Linked DNA regions of Homo sapiens: all the other regions are linked to region 1. The links are contacts of gene promoters, found by promoter capture Hi-C in blood cells and fetal thymus (Javierre and others, 2016). All regions are on one chromosome and are shown on one strand. The core of a region is centred on a gene start or on the middle of the fragment in contact, and the rest is flanking DNA. Distances in the headings are between cores, read along the strand shown. Region 1 holds the start of IFNAR2 (interferon alpha and beta receptor subunit 2). Region 2 has its middle 30 kb from the start of OLIG2. Region 3 overlaps IFNGR2 (interferon gamma receptor 2). Region 4 has its middle 13 kb from the start of IFNGR2. Region 5 has its middle 37 kb from the start of IFNGR2.

Region 1 (2,748 bases), core at 154-2,653:
GCAAATTCTCTAAAACTGTGGCTGAAAATATTTTCAATGTTGAATGTCTTTTATAAGAAATAGGATCCTAGATAAGTTCCCTTCAGATCGTATGGGGCTGGTGGGAATTCTGCCAAGGGTCACATAAGAGGCAGGACCGTGACATCCTCTTTATGATCACCCTTGTGCCTAGCCTTAAAGGAGTATCAGCAAATGTTGGTTGACTTCATAGATTAAAAGGCTCATTTTTCCCATCTACAAAAAGTATGAAACATCCTCCTCCTCCCTTTCCTAGGAGGCCAGAAAGCTGAACGAGAGATTAAATACTCAGTTAAAACAATTTAGGTGGTTAGTGTATCTTTTCCCTCTCCTTCAAAAAGATATTAACATTTCCATTTTAGTAGCTGTAATGTTTAGAATATACATACATTTTACTTGAAAGCTGCCTCATAGTCTATTTTGGTTTTGGATTTTCTTTTTTTTTTCGTTTTTCTTGAGACAGAGTTTCGCTCTTGTCTCCCAGGCTGGAGTGCAATGGTGCAATCTCAACTCACTGCAACCTCCACCTCCCAGGTTCAAGCAATTCTCCTGCCTCAGGCTCCCAAGTAACTGGGATTACAGGCGCCCGCCACCACGCCCAGCTAATTTTTGTATTTTTAGTACAGACAGGGTTTCACCATGTTGGTCAGGCTGGGTCTTGAAGTCCTGACCTCAGATGGTCCATCTGCCTTGGCCTCCCAAAGTGCTGAGATAACAGGTGTGAGCCACCGCTCCCGGCCTCATAGTCTATTTTAGAAGTTGACAGGCTATAAATAACAAGCAGACAAATTAATGAAGAACATCTGTCTTTCTGCCTATCCCGAAACACGTTGATCAGTGGGGGGTCGAGGGAAGGGTAGGAGTATGGAGAAGAGACCCGCGGAGAAGAGGGGAGAATCTACAACGGATAATGTTGTAGATATTTACAACATTTACTCAATGGTAGGTATTTTTATCCTCGTTTTACTAGTTGGAGAATTATATCATGCAGGTTTATACAATTAACAAGTGGGGGAGCCAGGAGAGAACCCATTCACTCTTTAGTTCATTCATTCATTCAGTCAGTCAACACATCTTTGGGTGTCTTCTAAATGCCAGGCACTATTCTAACCCCTAAGGATACTTCAGTAAACAAAACAGTCCCAAATTCTTCCCCTATGGAGCTTTCTCGGCGAAGGCGGGATTGGTTAGGAGCTGACAATCGGCAGCAGACGATTGTAAATGACCGGACCTTTTTTCTATTCTCCTGCCCAGCCCCCGGCCCGGCCTCCGCCTCCGGCCCTGCTCCAGCCCCGCCAGCGGCCCAGGACCCGCCCCTGGCTCCGGCCCCGCCCCTGGCTCCGCCCCCGCCCCCGCGCCGGCGGCGGCGCGGCGCCCGCGCTTCCGTATCGCTCCTCGTAGGCCGGGGCTCGGCGCGCGCACCCGCACTAAAGACGCTTCTTCCCGGCGGGTAGGAATCCCGCCGGCGAGCCGAACAGTTCCCCGAGCGCAGCCCGCGGACCACCACCCGGCCGCACGGGCCGCTTTTGTCCCCCGCCCGCCGCTTCTGTCCGAGAGGCCGCCCGCGAGGCGCATCCTGACCGCGAGCGTCGGGTCCCAGAGCCGGGCGCGGCTGGGGCCCGAGGCTAGCATCTCTCGGGAGCCGCAAGGCGAGAGCTGCAAAGGTAACGCAGCGTGGCGGGGTCGCGGGAGCGGAGCGCGTGGCCAGCTGACTGGAGGGAAAACGCCGCCTCCCTGCAGCGGTTCCCGGAATCCCCTCCGGTTCCCTCTCGCTCTCCCCGACTCCTCCTCCTCCTCCTGCCCTCCCTCTGCGTCTTGAGTATGCGGCTAGTGCGCCCTTCCTCTCTCCCGGGGCCGCACCTGCGACCCCAGGACCCCTCCCGGGCCCTGTCCTGCGCCCTCCACGCGTCGCCCCTGCTGGGAGTCCGCTTTCGTTGCACCCCTCCGCGTCCCACCCCACCCCACCAAGGATGCCCAGGATACCGGGCATTTGCCACTGCAAGATGTGAGTCGTTGCTAAGTTTGAGGGTCACATTCCTCCAGGTCCACCCCGCCTTGCAAAACCGGCTCACCAGCTGGGTGCTCAGGTTCGGGATCTCCAGCCCGCCCCCTTGAGGTCCCCTGGGATTAGCCCCCCTCGACCTGCGTCAGGGTCACAGACTGCAGCCGGGGCTGGAGCGGCCTACACCCCTCCGGATCCGCTGCGTGGAGGCAGGAGGGGGAAGGGGCGAGGGGACGTGGCCGCGGAGACAGAAGGGTGCACCCTCCCAGGGTCGGAGAGGGGAGATACTGGGAAGATACTCCGCGAATATGGAGAGGCGATCGGCACTTGCATTTCAACCCTGAGCAAATCAATCCGTTACACGCAGTAGCGAGTTGACTCCATCAGCCCGTTTATTTGGTTAGCGATGGTTATATTGACTCTGAGTATTCCCACCTCCTTTCTTTTAACATTTTTTTTTTTATTTCCTTGTTTTGTTTAGCAAGAAGTCTTAGAAACGAATATAGCATGCTTGGGCGTTGATTCAGTGGTGAGAAGTGCCGGAGCTGGCTCAGGGAGAGGTGGAGTTTCCCATGTGTGCTCACTGGCCCAGGGGCTAAGTCCCACTGCTTGCCAAGGTTTCTCAGTATCCTGTCCACCCACCCCCTATCCACCTGTGCAGGCTTGAGGGGGTGAGGGGGTAGCAGATACTCTATCAAAATCTACCCTAAGGAAAATATTCGATAAAC
Region 2 (2,748 bases), core at 122-2,621, 230 kb before region 1:
TGCCCTCAAAGTGAACAGAGTCTCTTCCAATACAAAGCCTTGCACTGATGAGTATCTGGGCAGATCAATACAGGCAAGGAAAAAAGATCCAGATAAATGGGATGGGGGTGGGCAGAGCAGAAGAGGCAGCTCTCAAAACCTTTGGAGATTTTTGTTTTATTTCCTTGCGAAAGGAACAGGAGAGGGAGCTCTAGAGCCTTTGAACTGGAAAGGTTGCCCCAGCATACCCTTCACTCCTAAAAGTATAGGAAAATTCATTTCATTTAGAAAATAAACAACAGAAAAGCATTGTGGTAAAAACTTATAAAAAGTTAAGAAGGAAAAAATGAAAAGAAAGAGCAGAAAAAATTCCTACAAAACGATGAAAGCGTGTCCAAAAGGAATGCCCACAAAACATTTCAAATATTATGAAACAAGTTAAAGAAAATTAAGAAAATGATAGAAGCTATGAAAGAATAACATACCTCAGAATTAGAAAAAAAGCTCAGAAATAAGGTGACTGGAGAAAAAAAATGCTTGAAAAGAGGGATGGCACAGTTTAGAAAATAACTAGAAATATAAAAAGAAAGGTCTGGAGAAAGACACTGATGTAAGAAATCATAGAAATACAAAGGACAGAAGAGCATGTTAAATGACACTGTGGGACGCAATGAATTCCGGACTGTGGAAAATTCTAAGTCAAATGGCTCCGTTTTTTCAACAACAAAAATGGAGGGGTTAAAAAGAAAGAAAGAAGAGGAAATGTATAAAGAAAAGAGATTTATAAGTCATTTCAAGCAAATGCAAAGTAGGAATCTTATTTCAGTTCTGGTTCAAACAATCAATTTTTTAAAATATAAAGCAACCAGGAAAATATAAACATGACAATATTTAATAATATTAAGGGATTAATATTTTTAAGTATAATAAAAATATTGTGATTTTTTAAAAATAATGATTATCTATTAGAGATGCATACTGAAACGTTTATAAATAACAGTACTTAATGTCTGGGCTCACTACAAATTATCCAGGAACAGTGGGAACAGAGGCAGATATAGAAGAACAAGATTATCCTGTATTGATATATATCAAAGCTGATTGATGAGTACTTGATTGTTCTTTGTATTATACTCTCTACTTTTGACTGTCTGAATATTACTGTAATTCAAAGCTTAATGAACAAACAAATAATAAGGGAAGTCTTAGAGCTTGGCATCCACCAGGAAGGAATACCTTTTGCTTCTTTCCTGAGAGGGCTGTGCTACCTGGAGAGGGTTTCAATAGATGCAGACATACATTGTAACCCATCCCCTTCAGCCCTTCTTCCCATTCAAGTGTTCCAGTATATTTGTCCCTAAACTGAACTAGATGTGTTACTCTGTCACTTGCTAGAATATAAGATCTATGAAGGCAAGAATTTGTCAATTGTGTTACCATTGTATCCCCAGGACCCAGAATAGTGCCTGGCACGTAATAGGCCTTCTGTAAATATTTGCTGTTTAATTGAGTGAATCGTCATGACTGATCCCAGGACATAATCCCAGGCTGTAACTACCACTGTGTGTTTTTTCTTGGAGAGAAGAGGGAGAATTCTTTACTTTGTAGACCTAAGCTTGGGTTACCTGCAGAAGTGGCCTCTAAAATGTGAGATAAACAATGTCTGACCTTGTAGCAATGGAGAACTTCAGGCAGCTGCTGAGCTGCTGAAGGTCCACAGAGTGTGAAAGGACTGAGCAATGTGACTAATGATTGCTTCCCTTTGCAAAGTATCCAGTATCCAGTATTCAGCCAATAAGCCTTACATTAGATGTAGTGTTAAATATGTTGGTAATTGATGGGAATAAATAAATGTAAATTTTATATATTATTTGTTTACATACGTGATATTACAAAATATATATTTGGCCTTCCTCCCTGTTTCCTGGCATACAACACTTAACGTCAACATCCTTGGACTCTTCAAAGTGGTGTGTCTTATTTGTAGGGAAAAGAAAGAGAAATCAGACTGTTACTGTGTCTATGCAGAAAAGGAAGACATAAGAAATTCCATCTTGATCTGTGCCAAGAAAATTGTTTTGCTGTTAATCTGTAACTTTAGCCCCAACCCTGTGCTCACAGAAACATGTGCTGTATGGAATCAAGGTTTAAGGGATCTAGGGCCGTGCAGGATGTGCCTTGTTAACAATATGTTTACAGGCAGTATGCTTGGTAAAAGTCATCGCCATTCTCCATTCTCGATTAACCAGGGGCACAATGCACTGCGGAAAGCCACAGGGACCTCTGCCCAAGAAAGCTTGGGTATTCTCCAAGGTTTCCCCCCATTGAGACAGCCTGAGATACGGCCTCGTGGGAAGGGAAAGACCTGACCGTCTCCCAGCCCGACACCCGTAAAGGGTCTGTGCTGAGGAGGATTAGTAAAAGAGGAAGGCCTCTTGCAGTTGAGTTAAGAGGAAGGCCTCCATCTCCTGCATGTCGCTGGGAATGGAATGTCTCGGTGTAAAACCCAATCATACATTCGTTCTATTCTGAGATAGAAGAAAACTGCCCTGTGGCTGAAGGCGAGATATGCTGGCGGCAATGCTGCTCTGTTACGCTTTGCTACACTGAGATGTTTGGGTGGAGAGAAGCATAAATCTGGCCTACGTGCACATCCAGGCATAGTGCCTTCCCTTGAACTTATTTATGACACAGATTCTTTTGCTCACAAGTTTTCCTGCTGACCTTCTCCCCATTATCACCCTGTTCTCCTGCCGCATTCCTCTTGCC
Region 3 (2,748 bases), core at 183-2,682, 180 kb after region 1:
CACTGCACTCCCGCCTGGGCGACAGAGCAAGACTCTGTCTCAGAAAAAAAAAAAAAAAAAAAAGAAAAAGAGGAAAAGACCTTAATGACAAATGTGTGGCTAGAACATTCTTGTGTATGTATCTGCTTTTGTTTTGCTGGGTTCTTTCCCCTGGGGAGAGTGATATCATAGGAGTCTCGAGAATTTAGAAGATTCTTCCCATTCGAAGCTATAACCTTGTGTTGTGGGTTTGTTTTTTCTACCGGCATTCCTTGCAAAGGCCCATAAGTTCCGTATCTCCTTGATCTGGGGTGCCTTGCACTTGAGGAAATTATTAACTGCTTTTCCATGGGAGTCAGACAGATGGGTTCAAATCCTGACTCTGCTTCCACTTGGCTTCACGTCTTGAGCAATCTGCATATGCCTCCTCCCTAGGCCTCCTCCTAATGAGAGTTGATGATTGTCCTAGTGTGGGATCAGCAGGCGAGTGACTTCATGCCAGAGAGGAGTGACTAGTGGTGATCTGTGGACTGTTTGTGACTTACCTGTGATGAGTCCAGAGGTTGAAAGATGTATTTAGAAACTATAGTCTGACATTGCCACAACATCCAGCTACCTGTCCATCTTGTTAATGATTAACTTTAATTGTATTCTACAAAAGTTTTGGTCTATGTGATATGTTGCAAAATAAAAAAATTTTAAAAAGTGAGGCCAGGCTCGGTGGCTCACACCTGTAATCCCAGCACTTTGGGAGGCTGAGGCGGGCGGATCACCTGAGGTCAGGAGTTCAAGACCAGGCTGGTCAACAATGATGAAACCCCGTCTCTACCAAAAATACAAAAATTAGGGGGCGTGATGGTACACACCTGTGTCCCAGCTACTCAGGAGGCTGAAGCCGAAGAATCACTTAAACTCAGGAGGCAGAGGTGCAGTAAGCTGAGATCACACCACTGCACTCCAGCCTGGGCGACAAGAGCAAGACTCTATCTCAAAAAAACAAAAACAAACAAATAAAAAAACTGGCTCCATTGATCCTTTGAAAAGTAGTAGCAGCTGGGCACGGTGGCTCATGCCTGTAATCCCATTACTTTGGGAGGCAGAGGTGAGCAGATCACCTGAGGTCAGAAGTTCCAGAGACCAGTGTGGCCAACATGTTAAAAACCCCTTCTTTACTAAAACTACGAAAATTACCCGGGCGTGGTGGTTGGCGCCTGTAATCCCAGCTACCTGGGAGGCTGAGGCAGGAGAATCACTTGAACCTGGGAGGGGAGGTTGCAGTGAGCCGAAATCATGCAACTGCACTCCAGCCTGGGTGACAGAGCAAGACTCTGTCTCAAAAAAAGAAAAAAAAAGAAAAGAAAAGTAGTGTAGTGCTTTAAACTAATCTCTATTTTGCAACTATTTGAACATTTTCACATTAAACAGCTTAAAAACAAACCTAATGGATATCTTCAAAAGAAACACTCTTTTAGTCAAAACACAAAGTGAAAATATTCACAATGATTATATGGCAAATGGGTGGTAGAAAGGTTTTCACACTTTCCCATAACTTACCGGTGTAATTTTGAAATTGCTTTTATGGTCAGAGAAAAAAAAAAGTGTTGGAAACTTTTTTTTTTTTTTTTTGAGATAGTATCTCTCTCCATCGCCCAGGCTGCAGTGCAGTGGCATGATCACAGCTCACTGCAGTCTCAACCTCTTGGGCTCAAGCCATCCTCCCACCTCAGCCTCCTGAGTAGCTGGGACTACACGTGCACGCCATCATACCTGGCTAATTTTTGTATTTTTTTGTAGAGATGAGGTTTCACCGTGTTTCCCAGGCTGGTTTTGAACTCCTGGGGTCAAGAGATCCACCCGCCTCAGCCTCCCAAAGTGCTAGGATTATAGATGTGAACCACCCAGCCTGGCTCCGGAAACAGATTTTTTAAAGGGAGACATAGTATCTATCCCTTAGAGTTCTGTAAGAGTAGAATATGTAAAATATGGGACCTGTGGCAATTTGTAGCCATGAGCTGTTAAGTAGTGGCCGTTTGCGCTAGATAGAAAAATGTAACCAACAGCACAAGTGCAGTAAATCAACTGACCAGTTAGTTACCTGAGTGTTGAGGAATTAAGGCTTCTATTTGTAATTGTAGCAGGTGCTGCTGACTTTTTCAGGGGATTGGATATGTACTGTGCCACAGAATTTTTTATCATTATTTGCTGACTTGAACAGCCAGAGCTTCTCATATGCTTAGAGACCACCGAGAAAGACAGTAAGTCCCCAGCAACTTAAAAACCATTGCATGTGAATGTCCACTGGGTAAGCTCCTGAGTGTTCATAATCTCAGCAAGTGAAAATATCATGTAGCTGGAATGCTTTTGCCACCTTTATAAACGATCATGATAGTAACATTTATTGGTCAGACGAGATGCCAAGTGCTTTATATACATTACCTCTCTTAATTTTCTCAGCCATTCTTTCGAACTAGGTTATATCTCTAGTTTACTTCCTGGAAAGTCAAACCTTTCTTGATAGGAAGAGCCAAATAATCTAGGTCAATAACTTGATGTCCAGTTGTTGTTGTTGTTTTTGAGACGGAGTCTCGCCCTGATGCCCAGGTGGGAATGCAGTGGCGCTATCTCGGCTCACTGCAACCTCTATCTCCCAGGTTCAAGCGATTCTCCTGTCTCAGCCTCCCAAGTAGCTGGGACTATAGGCACCTGCCACCATGCTTTGCTAATTTTTATATTTTTAGTAGGGACGGGGTTTCACCACGTTGGCTAGGC
Region 4 (2,748 bases), core at 163-2,662, 160 kb after region 1:
GAAGGAAGGAAGAAAAGTCCTACAGTAGGTTGAAGTTGAAGTGTGGCGACAACACTTTGGTCACCGATGTATCTCAAGTGTCTAGAACAATGCCTGGCATCTAAGAAGTGCTTAGTAAATATTTTTTGAGGAATAAAAAAGTAAATGAGTTTGTCTCTCTCTCTCTTTTTTTGGCGGAGGAGTGGGCAGGGTCTCACTCTATCACCCAGGCTGGAATGTGGTGATGCAATCATGGCTCACTGCAGCCTCGAACTCCTGGGCCTGGGCGATTCTCCTGCCTCAGCCTCCCAAGTAGCTGGGACTACAGGTGCACACCACCAAGCTCGGTTAATTTTTTTTTTTTTTTTTTTTTTTGAGATGGAGTTTCACTCTTGTTGCCCAGGCTGGGGTACAATGGAGCGATCCCAGCTCATGGCAACCTCTGCCCTCTGGGTTCAAGCAATTCTCCTGCCTCAGCCTCCTGAGTAGCTTGGATTACAGGCATGCACCACCACGCCTGGCTAATTTTGTATTTTTAGTAGAGATGGGGTTTCTTCATGTTGGTCAGGCTGGTCTCAAATTCCTGACCTCAGGTGATCCGCTCGCCTTGGCCTCCCAAAGCGCTGGGATTACAGGCGTGAGCCACCGTGCCTGGCCTCTAATTTTTTCTTTTTTTTTTTTTGAGACATGGGGCTTTGCCACATTATCCATGCTGGTCTTGAACTCCTGGGCTCAAGCAATCCTCCCGCCTCGGCCTCCCAAAGTGCTTGGATTACAGGTGTGAGCCACCGCACCTGGCTGAATCTCTTTTTGATACTTGGATAAGTCCAAGCTTCAGCATTAGAATATCATATCTGGTAGTGTTGCCTTTATTTGAGCCAATGTTTTTTGAGGTGAGGCTGTTTCCTAGGCAATGTGAGTGATGTTCATTTGGAAAACAGGAATGTCCCTGGGTCTTGAGTAAAGTGGGTTCTGGAGCTTCCTTTGCCTAGATGCCCCTATGCTACCTGGGGGAATGAGTTAGGAGGCATGTATGGATGTGCCCAGGTCCCTGGGTGTTGGACTGGACTGTGCTGGGAGGAATGGTGCCCTCCCCACTGCGTGAACTGGGAGGCCCAGGCAGGGTGGAGGCTCCCCCAAGCCAGGGGAGGTCATGGGACTGTGAGTTGGGGGTGCAGCCCATTGACAGATGAGAAGAAACTGCCACTCAGTGGACACCCCCCAAGTGCCTTGGGGATGTTGAAAAGCTCTGTGGATTGGTGCTTGTCTAGCACAACCAGAGGAGCCACCCCAGTTCCTGCCAGGGGCTCCCCACCTCCCACACAGAGAGTCCAGCCACCTGGGGATCTACCACTAATGCCAGAACAGAGGAAAAGGAGGGGATTTGACAGACTCTCCTACTGCAGACCCCAAGAGAATCGCCTGGGACTGGATGTAATGCAACTTGCAGTCCACTCATGGTCCTCTGCATTGCACGATCACCATGGTTCCAGATACTAGATGCTGTGTTCAGTGATTGACCGGGCATTCTCTGTCGCTGCCACTAAAACATAAGCTCCACAAGCTCAGAGTTTTTATCTGTTGTTCTCAGAACAGTGCCTAGCACAGAGTAGATGCTCAGTAAGTAAATATGTGCTAAATACATGAAAGAAGCGAGGGAGGGAAGGAGGGAGGAAGGGAGAGAAGGCACCATATTCCAGACCACCGCGTCCTTTCTGAACATGCTCCACCGCCCCTAGGCTGTCTGTGTTCTTGCCCTCATCCACAAAGGTACCCACATGAATTCGTGTTTGCTTTGCTTGGATCTGTTTTGTATGGATACACTAGAAGTCACACACTATGATGTTTGAGGTTTCCAAGATAAAAAGAAAGTTCACAGTGACAATAGTTTAAGATTCTGCAAAAGAAAGGACATTACATTAACGATGTATTTAACACTCACAAAATGTAGCATAATCTCTACATAATGGCTTACGCCCAGTGCCCATGACTGTACTGGGAAGTCACTATACCCGGGAGCTGGCCAAGGAAGGCTGAAGCTTGAGGGCTGCTGACAGTGAATGTGAGGCATTCGGCATCTCCTCTTATCACTGGTCAAGACGTGTTCAGGGCTTTGCAAAGTCAAGACTGTACCTGTAGAGAATGTCCTGAAACTATAGGCAACCTGATTTTCATACAATCTGGAAACACAGGAGAAGCAAAAGGTTCCTTCCTCTCCTGTCCTGTGTGTGGTTTCTACACACTTCTCAGAAAGGGTGAAATAATGCTGCCTTCTGGCCGTTTTGCTGGTGCTTAAAAATTGAGGAGTTTCAGGATATGAATTTTGGCCATTTCTGTATTGTAAGATTATGGAGGAATTGTTTTTTCTTCTTTATACTTTTCTGTATTTTATAGTTCCTTGACAATGAACAAGTACTACTTTTTGTTTTATTTTTTCCTGAGACGGAGTCTCGCTCTGTCACCCAGGCTGGAGTGCAGTGGCGCCATCTTGGCTCACTGCAACCTCCACCCTAGGTTCAAGTGATTCTCCTGTCTCAGCTTCCTGAGTAACTGGGATTACAGGTGTGTGCCACCATGCCCAGCTAATTTTTGTATTTTTAGTAGAGACGGGGTTTCACTGTGTTGGCCAGGCTGGTCTTGAGCTCCTGACCTCAAGTGATCTGCCCACCTCAGCCTCCCAAAGTGCTGGGACTACAGGCGTGAGCCACCACGCCTGGCCCAAGTACTACTATTATAAAGACAACAGCAACAAAAAAGTTAGAAAAATTT
Region 5 (2,748 bases), core at 150-2,649, 140 kb after region 1:
TGTCTTAATTTCTGCTTGTTTACCCCCAAGAGAATTTTATAAATCCATTTATTTCTTCATGTTTTAATTAACATCTAAAATATTTCCTGACACGTTTAAATAGTTGCAAAAGAAATACTTTACAGTAAGTTGTAAATATTCACATTTTAAAATAAACTTGCTTTATCGCTCTTATAAATGCATTCAATGGAATCTCCTATCAAAGCAATTTGATACCCATCATTGTCTACTTTGAAATTACAGAAACTCGGCCAGACATGGCGGCTCACTCCTGTAATCCCAGCACTTTGGGAGGCCGAGGCGAGAGGATTGTTTGAGTCCAAGAGTTCAAAACCATCCTGGACAACATAGTGAGACGACCTTGTCTCTACAAAAAAATGAACAGAATTAGCCAGGTGTGGTGGTGTGTGCCTGCAATTCTAGCTACTTGGGAAGCTGAGGTAGGAGGATCTCTTGAGCCCTGGAGGTCAAGGTATAGTGAGCCAACATTGTGCCACTGCACTCCAGCCTGGGCAACAGAGCAAGACCCTGTCTCAGAAATATTTTTTTAAAAATTTTTTTAAAAAGAAACTCCAGAAACTGTTCTTTATGGGTTCTGAAACTTTACACCATTTCCTTTCCTCCTTGAATTCATATTCTTATTCCCACAAAAGTTCATCTTCATGCAGTAGATTTATTGATCATCTATCGTATATCTTTGCAACAAAAAAGTATATAAATTGATATATTTCTTTTTATATGATCATAGTCTCTGAATGTTAAAAAGAAAAAAATCTGGTTGGGTGCGGTGGCTCATGCTTGTAATCCCAGCACTTTGGGAGGCCGAGGTGGGTGGATCACGAGGTCAGTAGTTCAAGACCAGCCTGGCCAAATGGTGAAACCCCGTCTCTACTAAAAATACAAAAATTAGCTGGGCACGGTGGCAGGAGCCTGTAATCCCAGCTACTCAGGAGGCTGAGGCAGAAGAATCACTTGAACCCTGGTGACAGAGGTTGCAGTGAGCCAAGATCAAGCCACTGCACTCTAGCCTGGGGGACAGAGTGAGACTCCATCTCAAAAAAAAAAAGAAAGAAAGAAAAATAGCTTTTCTGGATTATTATTGCAATTATTAGTATACAGTTGATCAAATATTTCATAACCTTTGATAAATAATTTTTCAGCATAAAAAGTCCAATTTCACTGGAAATGCATCTCTTTTATTTATTTACTTATTTATTTATTTTGAGACAGAGTCTCGCTCTGTCACCCAGGGCTGGAGTGCAGTGGTGCTATCTCAGCTTGCTGCAACCTCTGCCTCCTGGGTTCATGCGATTCTCCTGCCTCAGCCTCTCGAGCAAGTGGGATTACAAGTGCATGCCACCATGCCTGGCTAATTTTTTGGATTTTTAGTAGAGACAGGGTTTCACCATATTGGCCAGGCTGGTCTTGAACTCCTGGCCTCAAGTGATCTGCCTGCCTCAGCCTCCCAAAGTGCTGGGATTACAGGCATGATCCACCACACCCTGCCTGGAAATACATCTCTTAATTAACTGGATGGAGCTTCTTCCCTCTTCCTTCAATGCCTGCAGGTGTCACAGATGAACATGCCTTCTTGCCACATGGAGACAGGACCTAGTGCCTCTGCTGCTCCTGTTTTCCATGTTTTGGGGTGAGGCTTTGTGATGGGCTTGGAAGGAATCCCAAAGTGTCACCTCCACTCGAGTCTTTGGATTCTTTCTGATTTATAGGTCAAAAGCTATTTAGTGAACATTTATCAAAAATTATCTCTATCTAGTTGCTGAGCATGATATGAAAGGAAAATAAAAACTCGGGACTCCAATTCACTCTGCCAAAAGAAAAAAACTAAGCTGAAAGCTGAGTCATGCAAGAAGCTGCCTTTCCTTTTGTTCCTAAGCAGAGAGCTAGAGGTAAAGGTAAGTGTCTTGGGGGGGATATTTAACCTACTCTGTGTTCACCTTATCTTCTGTAAAGTGCTGATTTTCTGAGCATACAAGGAATACATAATTGAAATTGACTATTCCCCTACCTGCTCCTTTTCTCTTGCAACTTGTGGATTCGATAATGTGACCATACCCTCCTTCTTTCCATACCAGCCTGTTTTTTCCCTTATATTGAAGCCCTCAAAATCATCTTTGGAGAAAGGCACAGACCTGTCTCCTGGGCATTGTCCTTAACCTTGGCAAAGTAAACTTCTCAATTGAGACCTGTCTCAGATACTTTTCAGTTTACAATCAACAGCAGCTAACATTGACTGGGCGTGGTGGCTCACTCCTGTAATCTCAACACTTTGGGAGGCCGAGGCAGGTGGATCGTTTGAGCCCAGGAGTTTGAGACCAGACTGGGCAACATGGTAAAAACCCTCTCTACAAAAAATACAAAAAAGTAGCTGGGCGTGGTGGTGCACACCTGAGTCCCAGCTACTCAGGAGGCTGAGGTAGGAGAATCACTTGAGCCCAGGAGGTGCATGTTGCAATGAGCCAAGATCAAGCAACTGCATTCCAGCCTGAGTGACAGATTGAGACCCTGTCTCAAACAAAAAGAAAAAGAAAAGAAAAGAAAAAACCCAGCAGCTAACATTATAAAAACAGAAACTGCCAAACATTATACATCTCCTGATGGACAGATCAGGAGTAGTCTTGAAAAAACCCATTGTTAGGAATGATAAATTCCTCTTCAAAGGGTTTAATTGTGTAAAGTTCTTGCTCTTTGTTCAGAAGCCCAACCTCCTTGTACTCTCATTTCTAGCCT

Evidence for each region. The method cuts DNA at HindIII sites, captures the fragments that hold promoters and counts their contacts. A CHiCAGO score of 5 or more calls a contact.
Region 2: a fragment that was not itself captured here is called in contact with the fragment with the promoter of IFNAR2 in region 1 in 1 of 17 cell types (neutrophils); the score reaches 5.4 in neutrophils.
Region 3: a contact is called between a fragment that was not itself captured here and the fragment with the promoter of IFNAR2 in region 1, in 10 of 17 cell types (neutrophils, monocytes, activated CD4 T cells and 7 more). The highest score is 13.3, in neutrophils.
Region 4: a contact is called between a fragment that was not itself captured here and the fragment with the promoter of IFNAR2 in region 1, in 10 of 17 cell types (activated CD4 T cells, non-activated CD4 T cells, monocytes and 7 more). The highest score is 9.9, in activated CD4 T cells.
Region 5: a fragment that was not itself captured here is called in contact with the fragment with the promoter of IFNAR2 in region 1 in 6 of 17 cell types (non-activated CD4 T cells, naive CD4 T cells, activated CD4 T cells and 3 more); the score reaches 8.9 in non-activated CD4 T cells.

Annotation. Positions count from the first base shown.
Region 1 is chr21:33,228,535-33,231,282 of GRCh38, forward strand. It overlaps IFNAR2 (interferon alpha and beta receptor subunit 2), which reads left to right and starts at 1,404. Exons shown (of 9, transcript NM_001289125.3): 1 at 1,404-1,682. IFNAR2-IL10RB (IFNAR2-IL10RB readthrough) reads left to right here and starts at 1,404. Exons shown (of 13, transcript NM_001414505.1): 1 at 1,404-1,682. RefSeq lists silencers at 1,221-1,680, 1,741-1,800, 1,821-1,870. The HindIII fragment of the contact is 6,332 bases long and covers 1-2,748 here.
Region 2 is chr21:32,994,339-32,997,086 of GRCh38, forward strand. No RefSeq gene overlaps it. Among named protein-coding and RNA genes, the nearest start is that of OLIG2, 30 kb to the right of the region's middle. The HindIII fragment of the contact is 441 bases long and covers 1,152-1,592 here.
Region 3 is chr21:33,405,061-33,407,808 of GRCh38, forward strand. All of the region lies in intron 1 of IFNGR2 (interferon gamma receptor 2), which reads left to right. Among named protein-coding and RNA genes, the nearest start is that of IFNGR2, 3.0 kb to the left of the region's middle. RefSeq lists a cis regulatory region at 1-86. The HindIII fragment of the contact is 6,986 bases long and covers 1-2,748 here.
Region 4 is chr21:33,388,622-33,391,369 of GRCh38, forward strand. No RefSeq gene overlaps it. Among named protein-coding and RNA genes, the nearest start is that of IFNGR2, 13 kb to the right of the region's middle. The HindIII fragment of the contact is 1,207 bases long and covers 810-2,016 here.
Region 5 is chr21:33,364,595-33,367,342 of GRCh38, forward strand. No RefSeq gene overlaps it. Among named protein-coding and RNA genes, the nearest start is that of IFNGR2, 37 kb to the right of the region's middle. RefSeq lists enhancers at 1,809-2,748, 1,959-2,660, 2,661-2,748. The HindIII fragment of the contact is 4,490 bases long and covers 1-2,748 here.